Regions from separate parts of the Homo sapiens genome. Here region 1 is linked to region 2. The links are contacts of gene promoters, found by promoter capture Hi-C in blood cells and fetal thymus (Javierre and others, 2016). All regions are on one chromosome and are shown on one strand. The core of a region is centred on a gene start or on the middle of the fragment in contact, and the rest is flanking DNA. Distances in the headings are between cores, read along the strand shown. Region 1 has its middle 25 kb from the start of CD40. Region 2 holds the start of SLC12A5-AS1 (SLC12A5 and MMP9 antisense RNA 1).

Region 1 (5,564 bases), core at 395-2,894, 120 kb before region 2:
CCTGCAGGTGCACCTTTGTGCAGCACACAACTTGAAAGGCTGTCCATGGAAATTCTGCTATGGCTTCCAGGGGCCCAGCACTAAGCCTGACCATGCAACAGGCATCGCGTTTGTTGAACGGCTGTTTGCAGTATTCACCTTTCTTCTACCCTATTTCACCCGCAGCCAGTCTGAGCCCCAAGAGAGTGATTGGTGGAAGAGCCACCAGCTGGGTATGATGTGGCCACAGTGCTGATGGGGGAGTTCGCAGACGTAAAAGGGGACAGGCAGGGTCAGGCATAATTGGTAAATATTTGTCTATCTAATCAGAGGGCCTTTTAATTAGCAATTTCATCCTTGCAACTGGTTTATTTTTTTTTCTTTCTGCGGGAAGTCAATTAAATGTAACAGATGGAGGAAAACATGGGGGTTTCCTTGTCTCCCACCATCTGTCCCATCCCATTCCACCCCCAGCTGTGCCCAAACCTCATTGGTGGGGCTGCCTGCCAGTTGCCAGAGAAGGGCAGTGCTAGGGGACATAAACAAAGGCAGGATTCCTGACCCCCGGGAAGCCCTCTTTGGTCTCTCTGGCCACCCTACACATGCAGGCTGATCCTGCCTGCACAGCCTATGACTCCAGGGTCCTAAGATCCTTTGCCAACAAGGTATCTCTTTCTGCCTGATCCAGTAGTATAGGGTCTGGTTGCCTTTATTTGAGCTCCCATGACAGGCCTGACAAGGGCCCGCATGCAGAAGAGACTCTTGTCTAGCTCAACAAACCTTTATTGAGGGTCTGCTTTCTGCCAGGCAATGTGTTGGGCGCTAGATACATAAATCAAATAGTCCCGGCCCTGCGGGAGTGTGTAACACATTGGGGAAGACGTTTTTCCATTCATTTATTCTTTCAATATTTATTAAACAGCATGTGCATCAAGCTCTGTGCTAGGCCCTGGGGACGCAATGATGAATCCAACAGGTCCCTGACTTTCAATAACTCAGTAAGCAGAGGACACAGGCCAGTAAAGTCATGCATTCAATACGTATTTATTGAGTGTCTGTGTGAGCCAGGCACTCTTCTGGCTGTTGGGGACACAGCAGTGAACAGCACAAAGTCCTTGTCCTTTCTAGTAGGGGGAAAGACAATCAACAGATGGATGTATAACGGCAGGGGTGATCCGTGATGTGAAGAAAAAATAGTCAAACAGCCATCATTTGGAGTTGTATGGAATCTTTTTTTTTTTTTTTTTTTTTTTTTTTTTGCGACAGAGTCTCACTCTGTTGCCCAGGCTGGAGTGCAGTGATGCAATCTCGGCTCACTGCAACCTCTGCCTCTGGAGTTGAAGCGATTCTCCTGCCTCAGCCTCCTGAGTAGCTGGGACTACAGGGGTGCGCCACCACACCCAGCTAGCGTTGTATGCAATCTAACTGAGCTCTGCAAGTATCCAGATTCCTTGGCATGGCCTATGAGGGCCCTGATCCCCAGGCTCCGGCTTTCTCTCTAGGACCGTTTCTCAGCACTCACCACCTTCTGGGCTGTGTTCCAGCCACACCCACCTTCTGAGGATTCCTCCAACTTGCTGCGCGCTGTCTTGAGGCTTTCGCCCAGACTGTTCCCTCCATCTGGGGCACTCCTCCCCTCTTCTTTGCCTGGCCAACTACTCAGCTGAAGCGTCCCTTTCTGGGGAAGCCTTCTCTGATCTCTCAGGCTGTGTTAGGTTCTTCTACTGCATTCCTGCAGCCCAGTGTGGGTGTGGCAGGTCCTCATCTGTCTCCTCACCCTGTCTGGGAGCCAGCCAAGGCCCCAGACCATATCTGTCTTAGTCCTCTGCACTGTCTCACCAGCACCAAGCTCAGTGCCTGGCACATGCCCCATCCCCTATCAAGCCCACCTATATTGACTTGGGTTCAACCAGATGAAGAAAAGGAGAAGGGACATCCCAGGGAGGGCCCAAAATTTGCAAAGACAAAGCAGCTTGAAAGATTCCTAAGTGTTCCAGAAATAGGGATAAGGTCAACATAGTCATTTTAAAAAGGGCAGCACACGAAGCTAGAGTTAAGCATAGGTCTTCAATGTTAAACTAGGATGTCTGCAGTTTATCCTTATAAGCCTACAAACCAACTTCAGTCATTCACATGAGTCTTCTATGACTTTGCCAAAGATCCATGTGTCCCTGTACTGGGGCTGTTGGCCTTTTTCTTTAAATTATCATTTTTCTTCACTTTATTTTTATAACAGCTTTATTGAGATATAATTCACATAGTATAAAATTCACCCTTTTTTTATTGAGACAGGGTCTCACTCTGTCACCCAGGCTGGAGTGCAGTAGTACAATCATGGCTTACTACAGCCTTGGCCTCCTGGGCTCAAGTGATCCTCCTGCCTCAGTCTTCCAAGTAGCTGGAACTACAGGTGTGAGCCAGCATGCCCAGCTAATTTTTGTATTTTTTTGTAGAGATGAGGTGTTGCTATGTTGTCCAGGCTGGTCTCAAACTCCTGGCCTCAAACAACCCTCCCTCCTCAGCCTTCCAAAGTGCTGGGGTCACAGGCATGAGCCACCAAGCCCGGCCAAATTCACCCTTTTAAAATGTATAATTCAGTGGTTTTTAGTATATTCACAGAGTCATGCAAGCACCACTGCTATTGAATTTCAGAACATTTCTCATTTCCTCCAAAAAGAAATCCTGTACCTTTTATCAGCCTCTTCCCATTCTTCCCTACCCCAGCCCCTGGAAACCACTGACTTTTTTTTCTCTGGATTTGTCCATTCTGGACATTTCATATAAATGGAATCATACAATAGGTGACCTTTCGTGAATGTCTTCTCTCAATTAGCACACGGTTTTCAAGATTCCCCATGTTGCAGCCTGTGTCAGTACTCCATCTCTTTTTATGGCCAAATGCTATTCCATTGTATGTACATACCACATTTTGTTCAGCCATTCATCCATTGACAGACATTTGAGTTTTTTCTACTTCTTGACTATTTTTAAATAATGCTACTATCGATATTTGTGTACAAGTATTTGTATGGACGTATGTTGTCATTTTTCTTGGGTATATACCAAGCAAAGGAATTGCTGGGTCATGTGACAACACCAAGTTTAACTTTTTGAGGAACTGATGGACTATTTCCTAAGTGGCTGCACCATTTTACAATCCCACCAGTGATGTACAAGCATTCCAATTTCACCAGGTTTAGCCGTTCTAGTAAAGTGATAATCACATTGTAGTTTGAAATGCAATGGTATCTCATTGTGGTTTTGATTTGTGTTTCCCTAATGACTAATGATGTTGAGCATCTTTTCATGTGCTTATTGGCAATTTGTATGTCTTCTTTGGAGAAATGTCTGTTCAAATTCTCTGCTCATGTTTTCATTGTATTTGTCTTTTTATTGTTGAGTTATAAGAGTTCCTTATATATTCAAGTCTCTTATCAGAATTTTTTTTTGCTTTATTCTTAAAAGGAAACCTATGTCACCATCTAAAATGGAAAAAAAAGTGACACCTGTCATACATCAAAGGTAACTGTAAAAAATACAACTCATTAATTCAATCAGCAAATAATAATCATCTTCTATGATTCAGGTACCATTCTTGGCACTGAAAATACAGCAATGAACAAGACAGGTAACATTCCTTCTTATGTGGAGTTTGTAATTATATGGAGGAAAGCAAAAAAAAAAACCTGTCATGCTCAGCAAAAAGCAAGAAGAGAGGGATGCAGTGGTGTCTGGAGTGGCTTTATTGTTGAGTACTCAGGGAAGGCCTCTCGGAGGAAGTGACCCCCCCCCCAGCAGATAGCTAAAGGAAGAGAAGATCAAGGGAGAGAAGTTCTGGGCAGAGGGAACACAGTGGGACCGAGCTCAGTAGGTTCAAGGGCAAAGGCAGGGCAATGTGACGAGAGCAGAGTGAGCAAGGGAGAGAGGGATATGGATGGAGTAAGAGAAACTGACAGAAAAAAACCCCAGTCACACAGCACCTTATAAACCAGAGCAAAGGGCTTGGATTTGTTGTAAGCACAAGGGGATGCCCTTTGAGAGTTTTAAGCAGTTGAGTGATGTAATCTGATTAATGCTTTTAAAAGATCCTCCAGCTGCCGTGTGGTAGGTTTGGAGGGATGCAAGTTGAGAGCGGCATGATCAGCCCAGAGGCTGCTGCAGCCTGCAGGTGAGGGGTGATGCTGGCTCGGACCAGGGCATGAGGACATGAAGGGAATTGGCTATTCCAGAATATGTTTTGCAGGTAAAGTTGACAGGCATGGCTAATGGATTGGATGGGGAAGGCAAAGAAGAGAGAGGAGTCAAGGATAACTCCTAGATGTGTGACCACCTACTGAAGCAAGGCAGGCAAGGGGAGAGGCAGAGGCGTGGGTAGCACAGGCTCCGTTTAGGACTTGTAGATTAGAAATACCTATTGGACATCCAAATAGAAATATCAGGAAGGCAGCTGGAAATTGATCTGGGTCGAGAGTTACATTTGAGAATCAGTGGTAGTGGTTAATGCTCTGGGACTAGATGGAGCTCCAGACAAGAATAGGAATGAGGCAGAGCCTGATAGTACACTTGCGTTGAGAGGACCAGCCGCAGCAGAAAAAGCAAAACAGGAGACCTGCCGGGAGCAAGCAGTGAAGCAGGGTGGCAAATGAGAAAATGCAGCATTGGGGAGCCCAGAGGAGAAGGTGTTTGAGAAGGAAACAGTTGTAGAAATCAAAGCTTAGAACAAATCAGCGTTATTGAGTTCTAACTAGACTCAGTTGTTTGCTGGTGGCCGAGTCTGACCTGATCTTCCTACAGCAAAGGATATGAAAGACAAACCAGCACCAAACTGGGGTGTCCTCCTTGGGATCAAAAGAGAACTGTGCAAAGTCTCCCAGGAGACCTGGATCATGTGTCACCTAAGGTTATCCCCCAACCCGCAGGGGGTTCTCCTGACACACTTTGAAAACCACTTTTATAGGGGGAGAGGAGTCATTAAAGGCTACAGATGAGGGGAGTGACATGGTCAAATTGAAGAGGACAGAGAATGGGCCGGAGGAGGAGAGGCTGGGCACGAAAAGCAGGATGGAGGCTGAAGCAATGGCCCCAGTGAGAGATGTGAGGTCTGGGCTAGAGCAGAGGAAGCTGAACCTAAGGTCACCTGAACCCCACTCAACCCCTCAAGCCCCAGAGCCTAACACCTGCATTGCCACCTTGCTTTCTGTTCATCCCAAGTCCCACCTCTTCCCCCAGCTCTCTCTGACCCTCCATCCTCACACTCCTCCATTTTTCAGATGAGAAAACTGAAACACAGAGAGGTCTAGCAAGTTGCCCAATATCACACAGTGAATAAATGGTGGAGCTGGGATTCAAACCCGGGGACTCTGACTCAATCCATATTACAATGATGGAGAGAATGGAATCCAACCACCTATCCAGCAAGGAACCCCTTTGTTAGTGAGCTATTCCTTGCATACCTCCAGTGTCAGGCATTTCACCCCCTCCAGGATCAGGCTGCTTTTTTGGTCAGGTGGATTTGTACATCCCTCTTTTTCTGTGCCACAGTCTGTCTTCCTGTAGCATCTCCCCACTGGCAATGCAGCAGAGGC
Region 2 (5,118 bases), core at 2,102-4,601:
TCATAACCAGTTTGTTGCCATGGAGATTCCTAGGGCTCACCTTGGGCTGAGGTACCGGGCAGTGAGGTTCTGAGTTCTGGCTTGGGGATGAGATGACTGGAGATCTCCTTAGACAGACTGGAAATCTCCAGATCCAACATATATACCAATAACAGCATTATTCTTCCCAATTTACAGATGGAGAGACTGAAACATGAGGTTTGTGTCTAGAGAAGGCAGACAGCTTCATCCTTCCAAATCATCACAAAATCTTAGCATTTTTATGGTTAGAAGGACCCTTAGATAGCTTCCTGTTCAACTCCTTTATACTACAGATGGGTATATTAAGGCCCAGAGAGGGGAAGAAGTGTGCCCAAGGTCACACCACAGAGCCTGAGCTAGAACACAGATGGGCTACATTGTGGTCTTGCTCCATCCTCCCAGCATAAGTTAGCTCCCTCTCCCTCCATGGGGACACATCCCAACTCCTGTTAGTCCTACCAGGCCCAGGGCTCTTTTCAGGGCCCTGACTCCCCCCTGAGAAATGGAGGCATAGTAGAGGATCAGATAAAGGAATAGGGGAGCATCTCAGAGTTGTAACAACTGTCACCAGGTCTACTTCTGTTCATCCAAGTCACCATCAATCTCCCATGACACAGGTGAAGCAAGTGAGGTGTGTGGCCCGCAATCCAGGGTTAGTGGCAGATTTGAGGCTTGGCCTTGCCTTGCTTCTTTAACTCCCTGTAAGTCATGTTCTCACCTATGGCTCATCCTCTGGCAGCAGAAAGCCCCCCAAGTGGCAAACCCCACTCATTTGGCCCAGAGTAAAAGATAATACACACCCACACCATCTCCCCCAACCTTTCCCAGTCTTAGACATGCTGCTATCCCTCCCTTTGGGTGAAGACAAGAGGTGGAAAGAGAATCTATCAGGGGCTAGAGGGCTGACACAAGAACAGCTATGGGAAAGATACCAGCAGATGCTGGGTTCCCCTAAGTAGCCCTTGTCTACTTCCCCATACAGTGATCTGCCAGAGAGGAGGTGCTTGAGACTGCTTCAGGCTTAAAAGGTTAAAAGTCACCCAAATCATTGTCCAGATGGAACTTCCAATACACTCCTGCACACAGGTACCCACCCCTCAGATAGACACAGAAATGTACACATCAGCACACCCTTCAACGTGCTGGCAATATAGTGACACACAGAAGCACTGAGTGAGTCACTGACCACCCCACAGGTCATCAAAACTAATGGGGGATGCTCCTCCCACAAGACACACACACACACACACACACACACACAGCCTCTGCCACAGCACACAGCATTCCAGGCTCATACACACCTGCACACCCAAAGCTTGGGGGCTGTGTTTCACTTCGACCCCAGCGAAGTAGTGTGAGTACCGGCATCTGAGAGTGTGAATGGGAAAACAGCAATCACCTTGGGACATGAGAGAGGGCCGTCTTATTCCTAAGCCAGGGGATGAGGAGCGAGAGAAGAGAAGGCAAGGGTAGAGAAGCAGGATCCCACAGCCACCCTCCTCTCATCTTATGAGCATTACACACCTACTAAGTGCCAGGCTCTGGGTCTGGAACTCAGAACACAAAGATAAAGGAGATGGTCCCTGTCCTTGAGATGTTCCAATGGAGGATACCCATAAGTAAAGAAAACGACTGCCATCCACCGGGACATGTGCACTAAGGGTGCAGTGGGTGGGCCGAAGAGGAAACTGAAAAGGTTTTTGGAAAAGGTTAAATGAGCTATAACTTACAGAACGAATAGGAGTTTTCCTGGCTGATGGAGGTGGGAGAATGAATGTGGACAAGAACACCAGAAGCAAATGAGGAAAGAGAATGACAGACTTAAGGCTTTGGCCTTTATTTTGCAAGTGATGGGGGGCTTCTGTGGAGGAGGGCTAGGGAAGGACTGGAGGCAGGGAGGCCAGTGGAGAGGATGTGGTCGTGGCCATGTGAGGCTTGGAGCAGGGCGATGATGACAGAGGGGGGACCGATGCTGCCAGATTCAGGATAAGTTTCAGAGGTGAATGGCCAAGACGTGGGGATCAGTTGGATTTGCTGGAAAGAAAAAAGGAAGGGTTGAGAATGGCTCCAGAATTTCTTACTTTCAAATCTGGGAGGCTGGTAAGGTCATTCATGAAAATGAGAAAAGAGATTATGAGAAAGATGAAGAGTGGAAGGAGCCCAAGAAATCCAAGTGGCCACAACCAGGAGGCGTTCGGTTCCCGGGACTGGGGCCATTCGGAATTCCAGGCCTCAATTTGGTCATCTGTACAATGAGGAGGTCCGCCAGATAACCCCCTAAGGGTTACTCTAGGGGTTTCGGCGCTTGGGTTTGCTTCGGGGCGAGCTCACCTGCGGCTCGGCAGCGACCCCTGGCGGTCTGGGGAGGCTTCTCCTCCTCCTTCTCCTCCTCCTCCTCTTCCTCCTCCTCTTCCTCCTCCTCCTCTTCCTCCTCCTCCTCCTCCTCCTCCTCCTCCTCCCCTCGCTGGGGCCACTACAAGCCGATTCGCCTTGTTCCTTCCAGACCCGAGGGCCTCAGAGCCAGGGAGAGGACCCCTGATGAGTGCCCCCTGAGGGGAGACTGTGCACGCGCCCAGGATGCTACTTCTCCACCGAAGGCCAGAAGGATCTTTCCCCTCCCCTATACTCTGTGCCCTGCGTGTAACTTCCATTACAAGACCCTGCACAGGGCCCGCGAGGAAGACGCCCCCAACCCCGCCTGAGCTGGCTCCTCCCAACCCTTACGGAGCTCGAGCAGACAAGGAGCTAAGTGGGTCCCCAAGAGTCGGGATCAGCGACCCTACGGCATCCTCCCTGAATCTCGCTGCCCAGGATCCATACTAACTTCCCTGCCTCCCGTCTCCTTCCCGGGATCCCCAGTCGCTGTCCGCTAAGCCTCCAGGGAGCTAGAGGATTGGAGGATCCGCCAGGCACCGAGGACCCGCTGACCTGGCACCTGCCTCGGCAACCCTGACTCAGTTTTCCTCCCGCCCTCGACCCCACCCCCCTCCCAGGCCCCACTCCCATCCTCCTGGCCCAACTCATTCCCTACTAGTCCCGCCCTTTCCTGACCCCAAACCAACCTAGTCCCGCCGCCTCCCCTTTAGGGGCTCCTGACCATCCCCCTTCAACACACAGCCCCCTTTTTCCCTAGTTCCACCTCCTCACTCTGGTCCCGCTCCCTACTCGAGATGTCCCCGCCCCTTTAGTGCCCTACGGCCTACTCTCCACCTTGACCCCGGCCTTTCCATCACCAGACCCGCCCCCTTCGCCTCCGTCCAAACCCCTTCCCTGGCCCCACCCCTTTCCCTCGTGGCCACGCCCACCTCGCGTTTGGCCCCTCCCCCTCCACACTTTGCGTTCCGCGGCCCCGGCCCCTTGGTTTCCTAGTCCTGGCTCCATTCCCCTCTCAGGCCTAGGGCTGGGACCCCTCCCCGCCCCCGGTCTTGGCCCTGCCCCCTTCAACAGACGGTCCGCCCCGGCCCCTCCCCCTCGTCCCGCCCGGCCCTGGCAGGCCCCGCCCCCTGCGGCCTCTACCTTTGACGTCTTCCCCCGGGAGGTGGCGGGGGTCTGCGACCGAATGCCGGCGGGACTCTGGGTCAGGGCTTCTGGCGGGCCCTGCGGGGGGCAGCGAGGTGACCGTGAACCTGCGGCTCATGGCGCGGAAAGGAGCCAGGCGGCCGCGGCAAGGTCCGGGATCGCACAAGTGGCTGCAACCAGGCTCTAGGAGGGAGAAAGAGCGGATCCCCCAACCCCCTCCGCCCGCCCGCCCCCCGCGAGACGCGGCGCCGCGCAGGGTCCTAGTGCCCGCTGTGCGAAGGGTTCCTGAATCTGGCCACTTCGCTGGGAGGCCCTGGGCTCCCCAGTGCCACCCGAAGGGCCTGAGGAGGCCATCTGCAGGTGAGAGTCGTCCCTACAACGGGGGCACCTCTGTTAGGGTCTCCTAAACACCTGGGGCTCATTCATTCATTCATTCATTCATTCGGCACATGTCGATAGCGCTCCTGTGTTTCGGTCAATGGTGCGAGGGATACGTCGGTGGATGAGATCCACTGGCTTCTTGCCCTCAAGTGGCTTAAATTCTAATAAGGAGAAAAAGATTATAAGTGAGCAAATGCATAGATGAGATCATTTGAGATTGGATGTATGTTTAAAACTAGGGCCATGGGATAATGGGTAAGAGGGAGGACTACTTTAGGGGTGGCCTGAGAAGGCCTCCTAGAAGATGTGGTATTTGAGCTGAGACCTCACTGATGAGAAGGGCCAGCTATGCAAAGATCTAGGGGGAAGAGTTCTCTAGAAGAAGAAACAGCAAATGCAGAGCCTTGGAGTGAGAAGGAGTCCCGACTGTCCAAGAAACAGCAAGGCCATTGTGTCTGGAAGAGAGTGAGTGGAGAAGAGAGTGACTGGAGATGAGGGAGGAGAGAAGGGCAGATCATGTGGTCTTCTGAAGGCTTTGGGGAGGATCCTGGATTTTTTGAGCAGGGGAATGATGTGATCCAATTTATAATTTAACAGGATCATTCTGGCTGCTGGGCGAAGGTTCAACTAAAGAATGGCAAGAGTAGAAGCTGGAAATCTAATTAGGAGGCTCCTGCAGACCCCAAGCTGGGGGGTGATGACAGCCAGACTAGAGTGGTGGCAGTTGTCTGATTCCAGTTAGGTTTTGAAAGTGAAACCATCAGGACCCACTGATGGATCGGATGTGACACGTGACCATAAGAGTGAAGTCAAGGAGAAATCCTGGCAATTCACACACTGCTGGTGGGAGTGTAGTTAGGCAAAAACTACTTTGGGAAACTATTTGGAAACATCTACTGAAGGTGAACGTACACATATCCTTCAACCCAGCAGTTTTTCTCCTAGGTATATACCCGAAAGAAATGACTACTTGTGATCACCAAAAGACATTTACCATGAATGTTCATAGGGGCATTGTTCATAATAGCCCCAAATTGGAATCTACCAAATGCTTGTCAACAGTAAAATAGAGAAATAAGTCGTAGTACCTTCACACAATGGAATACCATCTACAATTCTCAGAACAATATGGATGAATCTCACAAATAGAACCTTGATAAAAAAGAGTCCAGACACAAAAGAATACATACCCTATAA

Evidence for each region. The method cuts DNA at HindIII sites, captures the fragments that hold promoters and counts their contacts. A CHiCAGO score of 5 or more calls a contact.
Region 1: a contact is called between a fragment that was not itself captured here and the fragment with the promoter of SLC12A5-AS1 in region 2, in 1 of 17 cell types (naive B cells). The highest score is 6.0, in naive B cells.

The regions. Positions count from the first base shown.
Region 1 is chr20:46,140,796-46,146,359 of GRCh38, reverse strand. No RefSeq gene overlaps it. Among named protein-coding and RNA genes, the nearest start is that of CD40, 25 kb to the right of the region's middle. The HindIII fragment of the contact is 6,101 bases long and covers 1-4,694 here.
Region 2 is chr20:46,020,306-46,025,423 of GRCh38, reverse strand. It overlaps SLC12A5-AS1 (SLC12A5 and MMP9 antisense RNA 1), which reads left to right and starts at 3,351. Exons shown (of 3, transcript NR_147699.1): 1 at 3,351-3,900. It also overlaps a transcript of SLC12A5 not described here. RefSeq lists silencers at 3,301-3,660, 3,681-3,840. The HindIII fragment of the contact is 8,792 bases long and covers 1,339-5,118 here.